2 separate regions of the Homo sapiens genome follow, and region 1 is linked to region 2. Evidence: promoter capture Hi-C in human tissues and cell types (Jung and others, 2019). All regions are on one chromosome and are shown on one strand. Each heading gives the region's core, a stretch centred on a gene start or on the middle of the fragment in contact. The rest is flanking DNA. Distances are from core to core; before and after follow the strand shown.

Region 1 (2,700 bases), core at 193-2,692, 160 kb after region 2:
TGCATTTGTCAAGTTTCCTACATACAGAAAGAGTAATGATTAAATTAAAAATTCCATGTGGCTCTTATATCCTGAACCATACGCATGTAAGCCAAGGGATTTAATAGCTGCAATCAATTAAAGTGCATCTTGTTGGAATGCTAACTTTCTGCCCAGAAATCAAGGGAGGAAATTACATTGCTGTGCAAAGAAGAAGAAAAAACCTTCTTTACATACATTAAAACCTTTCCTTAATCCTTCAAGAGAAAGTACCGTGGCTAGTTCCACGACTGCAATTGGCTTTGCTTCTGTTATGTGCAGCTATCTCTTAGACTTCCAAAACATAAAAAATAAAATAGAGCAAGGAGCTCCCTTATTAGGACTTTGTTTGCCTGGAGGCAAATAACATTCCCTCCCTTGTTGTGTTCAGTTAGAAGGGTTGTGGCTTTTTCTTTTGGCTCTTGCTCTGTATTTGCCTTTAGAAGGTGACGTGGCAGCCATAGTGGCCAAAGTGCACCTGGGGATGTAGGTTAAGACTGGGCTCTGACTTACCCCAGATCCAACATCTAGCCTAGGGTTGCACACACAGTACAAGCTCAGCAGGGACTTTTAGGATGAAGGACCCAGCAACACAATTTTGGAGCCAAGTAAAAAAGCCCAAACTAGAAAACCATCTAGGAAGGATAGCTAAAAGCAAGGAAGAGAAGTAGTTGAGTTTTTTCTGTTTCATAAAAGTTGTAGTTACACCCAAAGAAAGCTGACTTCATTTCCCAAACAGAATGACAACCTCAGAATGCTTGAATCTAAAGGGTTATGTTAGGCTTAAAGGAGTTTTTGGGCTGAAGCTTCCTCACCTGTCCCCTGTCACTCTATCAAAGGGATAACTCACGTGAACACCTGCAGTTGATTATACTTGGTCAGACGTGAGCTGGACAGATGACTAGTACATTTCATTGGCTGATGAAAAACAAAACATTCCCTTCCTGGAGTCTAGATCCCCTCCCCTCCATTTCCCTTTGAAACCCTCTGACTTAATCAATTAAATATGACGTCAGAAATAAATCAAGAAACTACCCAAACTGGAGACCTAGGCAATAAAAATTTAAACATTGTACTTTTTAGCATCAGGCGCTTTTTGGCATGTGCTGATTGCCTTAGCGTGTGTGTTGGCCCTGTGAGTTAGGCCACCTAATCTCCTTCCTAATGTATTTTGGCAGGAAAATAAAATAAAATAACAAGAAGAAGAAAGAAAGAAATCCCACAGAAACAGATAACCTAACACAGCCCGTGCAACGTATTTTATACAATGCTCTGAAAATCATAGTCTCAATCTAGACAGTCTTTTCCTCTAGTTCCCTGTATTCAAATCCCAGTGTCTAACATTCAATAAATAGCTATATGAAATCAAACACTCTCTGCCGTATATATGAAGACCTTCAGTATTATTTATCCCAACTTTCATCAGCTCTATCAACATCATATTCTGAGAGAGGCATGTCTACTATTTAAATAACTAAACTTAGAGAATGAAGATAACTTTATAATAAGCTCTCAGTGACCTTTTTAATAGAAAATATAAAAATTCAGAATGGAAAAAGGAACTATATGCTGAGATTCTATGTAACCAACGGTGACACACTTGTATGAAGAGGGTACAAAGAGAAATTACTTGAAACTTGAAGAGCTCAATAGAAGCAAGGAAGCTCAGTTTTAACAACTAAGAGGGACATTTCCTGGGTTAAGAATCTTCTCAAGTGGCACCAGTGGGGATCCCTCCCTAACTCTCCAGTTACTCCAAATAACTGGCAGTTCGTGGGAGAATGCAGTAATGGAGCACTTCATGTGACGGTTTTGTTCTGCATGTAATCACCTTCCATGGATTTTATGACCATATTTGAGTTTTTATCAGCCTCATTCGCCTGCAAAAAACAGAGACCAGTTCAAGCTAGTCCAAGATGAAAGAACTCAGGTAGACTGTGGCTGGGGAAAGAACTGAGGCAGCTCTAGACACCACCCTCATGGGCTTTCGATTTCACTGCTAGCAGCTCTGCTTCTCTCTGGGAATTTATTCCCTTCTGCCTTCTCTTACTGGCCGCCTCTCTGCCCTTGTAACTCTGGTTTGTACAGAGCCCTCTCTCCTGACTCCATCTGATATTTCTAGTCTTCATTTCACCATCTGCCCCCAGTGCTTATAGCTGAGTCTCTCAGTTTCCATCTTTCAGTTCCCAATAGGGGAAAATACTTGGTCCAGCTCATCTTTTCACTCCAGACCATAGATCATCAGTCACAGCTCACAGCCAACCAACAGACTGGTGCTCTTGGGTCACATCTGGCCAAAGAGAAGCTTCCTAGTAAGCCCCGTGGCCATGGTGAGAATAGCTCCCCTCAGAAGGAGGAATGGACCTGGTGCAGGCCCTGTGGCCTCTCTGAAATAGTATTGTTTCAGAAACTAAACTTCGGTCTCATTAAATACTATCAAAATAAAAGCTACACCCAGGAATCCATACCATATTCTTCCAACATCTGCCACTTTTACAGGCTCTCAAAGATCCTATCGTTCCCAATATCAAGCATATTTGAAAGGCAATAGATAGCAGGAAGCCCCATGACTGAATGGAAAGTGGGTTATGGCTTAGCCCCAAGCAGCTCCATGTCTCAGACACACACAGACCTACATATGAAGTAAATGTACTGGAAAGAGAAGATGCTTCCTTTCCCATG
Region 2 (2,700 bases), core at 12-2,511:
TCTCTCATGGCCTATCCTCAGAAGCCACACACCATCTTCTTAATTACTCACAGGTCAGTCTCACCCAAGGTGGAAGGGGTGTGAATTCCAGGAGGTGAGAAACACTGGGTTCATTTTGGAGGCAGGTCAGTGCTACGCATGACAAATCTTCAAGGCTGATTTGACAACATGATTATTGGTTAGTGGAGCATTCCAAGACACTAAGATTCCATGGTACACATGTTGGGGGAAACCACCATGGACTGTCACATTGGGGTATAAGGGTCTGGGAGGCACACAAGTGGAGGGGAATATGTGTGTCTGGAGGAAGAATCCTGGGAAAACAGTACATGCATATGCACTGAGGGCTCCCAGAGCGGAAGACAATAGGAAGCTAGAACTGGGGTACCACTCGGAACTGGGGCTCAGAGGCTGATTCTCCAATTTAGAGAGGCTAGCACGGAACTTCCCTGCCAATTCCAAACTGCTTGGAGCGTCTCTACTCTTGTAAGCTGTTTACTTCCTCCATCCTAAATCAAAGATAGAGAGAAAATGTCAAAGTTCACAGGCTGAAAAGAAGAACTATTATCATAGAATCCCTAAAAGATGGAGATGGTGGCCATCTAGAAGGCTCAGCTGTTCCATGCCGGGAGCAGCCCTAAGTACCACACTCTGTGGGGTTGTTTGTGATGGTTTCAGACCGGACCCCAACAGTCTCTTTTATGGTCCAGACAGACTAAGACCATGTAAGGTCACTCTGATGACTCATACCACAAAGGTCCCGTTTTTCCCCTACTTCATCTGCACAATGGTTTGTTTGCAAAGGTCCTAGCCTGGGGAGCCGGAGTCACCGTGGTTGGAGGAAACAAATTCTCATCCAATGTTTAGTGACCTTATCAAAAGATGCAGGATAGGGAAGGAAAAGAAGGAATAGAAGGACTACAGAGAATGGAGAGGCGGTCACGGAAAAAGAAAGGGAAAGTGCGTGGGAAGAAGGAAGGAGTAAGAAAACACGCACAGCTCACATGAGAATGGTAAGGACAAGGAAATTTATACGCGAAGCCTGGAAGCGCCCCCGCCCCCGACGCACTCCCGCGGGTCCCACGCGTGCTTTCGCCGCCTTTGTCCACAAGGTGGCAGCCTTTGAACTTTCTTCCCCGTAAGAACGCGAAAGGGGGGCAGAGAGGAAGGAGAGAAGGCAAAGCACTGCCCCCACCAAGAACAATTTGAAACCCCCCCCCCCCCCCATCATATTTAAAATCTGGGACAAAGAACCGTCGGGACGGAACTCCTTCCATTGCAAAAGCTCGGCGCGGCCTCGGGAGCTGCCCGGCGGCCCCGGACCGAGGCAGCCCTCCCCTTTAAAAGAAGCGGAGGACAGGATTGGGATCCTTGAAACCCGAAACCCAGAAACAGCATCGGAGCGGAAACCAGAGGGGAAACCTTGAACTCCTCCAGACAATTGCTTCCGGGGAGTTGCGAGGGAGCGAGGGGGAATAAAGGACCCGCGAGGAAGGGCCCGCGGATGGCGCGTCCCTGAGGGTCGTGGCGAGTTCGCGGAGCGTGGGAAGGAGCGGACCCTGCTCTCCCCGGGCTGCGGGCCATGGCCACGGCGGAGCGGAGAGCCCTCGGCATCGGCTTCCAGTGGCTCTCTTTGGCCACTCTGGTGCTCATCTGCGCCGGGCAAGGGGGACGCAGGGAGGATGGGGGTCCAGCCTGCTACGGCGGATTTGACCTGTACTTCATTTTGGACAAGTAAGTGCCGCGAGTTGTCCCCCCCACCCCAGGCTAAGCGGGCGAAAACGCTTTCGCCCCGGGCCGGGCTCGTTGGCAGGGTCGCCTGGGGACAGGAGCGCATCTCCAGGGCCACAGAGGGACCGCGCGGCAGGCGGCGGCGGAGTGCTGCGCCTTTGTTGGGGCGCGCTCCTCCCAGCCTCGGCTCCAGAGCCCGCAGCCGAGGCGACGCCGCTTGCTCGGAAGGGGACAGACTTCTTTTCTGTCTTGCTTTCTGTGTCCCAGGAGCAGGCAAGGGGCTTGGAGGATGCTATTGTCTTGCTGAGTTTCTGTGACTCCCTCCCGTGTTGGTGGGAAAGGCTTGCTTACCAAAGGCAGAACTTGCAGGCACAGGCACTCCTAAAGTTAGAGGCTTGGGCATTTTAAAGCCAATCGTCGCATTTTGTTTTTGTTTTTGTTTTTTTGTTTTGTTTTGAAACGCTGTCCCACGGAAGGCATTATCTTTGCTCCTAATCATGTAATGCATACTTCTCACCGGGCACTGAGTGAGAATGAAAGGCAGGGTTTCTTAACCTTGGCACTTCTGAGATTGAAACCTGGTAATTCTTTGTGGTGGGGGCTGTCCTGCGCGTTGTAGGATGTTTAGCAGCATCCTTGGCCTCTGCCCACTGGATGCCAGTAACATCCCCCGCCCCCCACTCCTTCCTTATTAGTGGTGACAACTAAAAATGCCTCCAGACATTGCCAAATGTCCCTCCCCTTCGACTTGAGTACCCCAGATGTAGTGAATTCAAGCTCTTGGCCATTTGACTGGTGGGCTACCAGGGAGGTGCAGGAGCCCTGGTTTCCTTGCAAAAAGTGGTTAGGCTTTAGGATTTGCTCAAGGGAGAGCTGAATTCTGACCAATGAAGCACTTCCCAAATCCGCATAAGTTTGCCAAGCCACAGTCACCCAAGGAAGCTTCATGCTATCTGCTGAAAACCAGCT

Evidence for each region. The method cuts DNA at HindIII sites, captures the fragments that hold promoters and counts their contacts. A contact is called where the count stands out against the background at its distance.
Region 1: a fragment that was not itself captured here is called in contact with the fragment with the promoter of ANTXR1 in region 2 in 3 of the 25 tissues and cell types used here (H1 embryonic stem cells, adrenal gland and aorta).

Annotation. Positions count from the first base shown.
Region 1 is chr2:69,171,171-69,173,870 of GRCh38, forward strand. All of the region lies in intron 14 of ANTXR1 (ANTXR cell adhesion molecule 1), which reads left to right. Among named protein-coding and RNA genes, the nearest start is that of MIR3126, 69 kb to the left of the region's middle. RefSeq lists an enhancer at 287-581. The HindIII fragment of the contact is 3,578 bases long and covers 1-2,700 here.
Region 2 is chr2:69,011,918-69,014,617 of GRCh38, forward strand. It overlaps ANTXR1 (ANTXR cell adhesion molecule 1), which reads left to right and starts at 1,262. Exons shown (of 18, transcript NM_032208.3): 1 at 1,262-1,734. The coding sequence starts at 1,583. The HindIII fragment of the contact is 10,036 bases long and covers 1-2,700 here.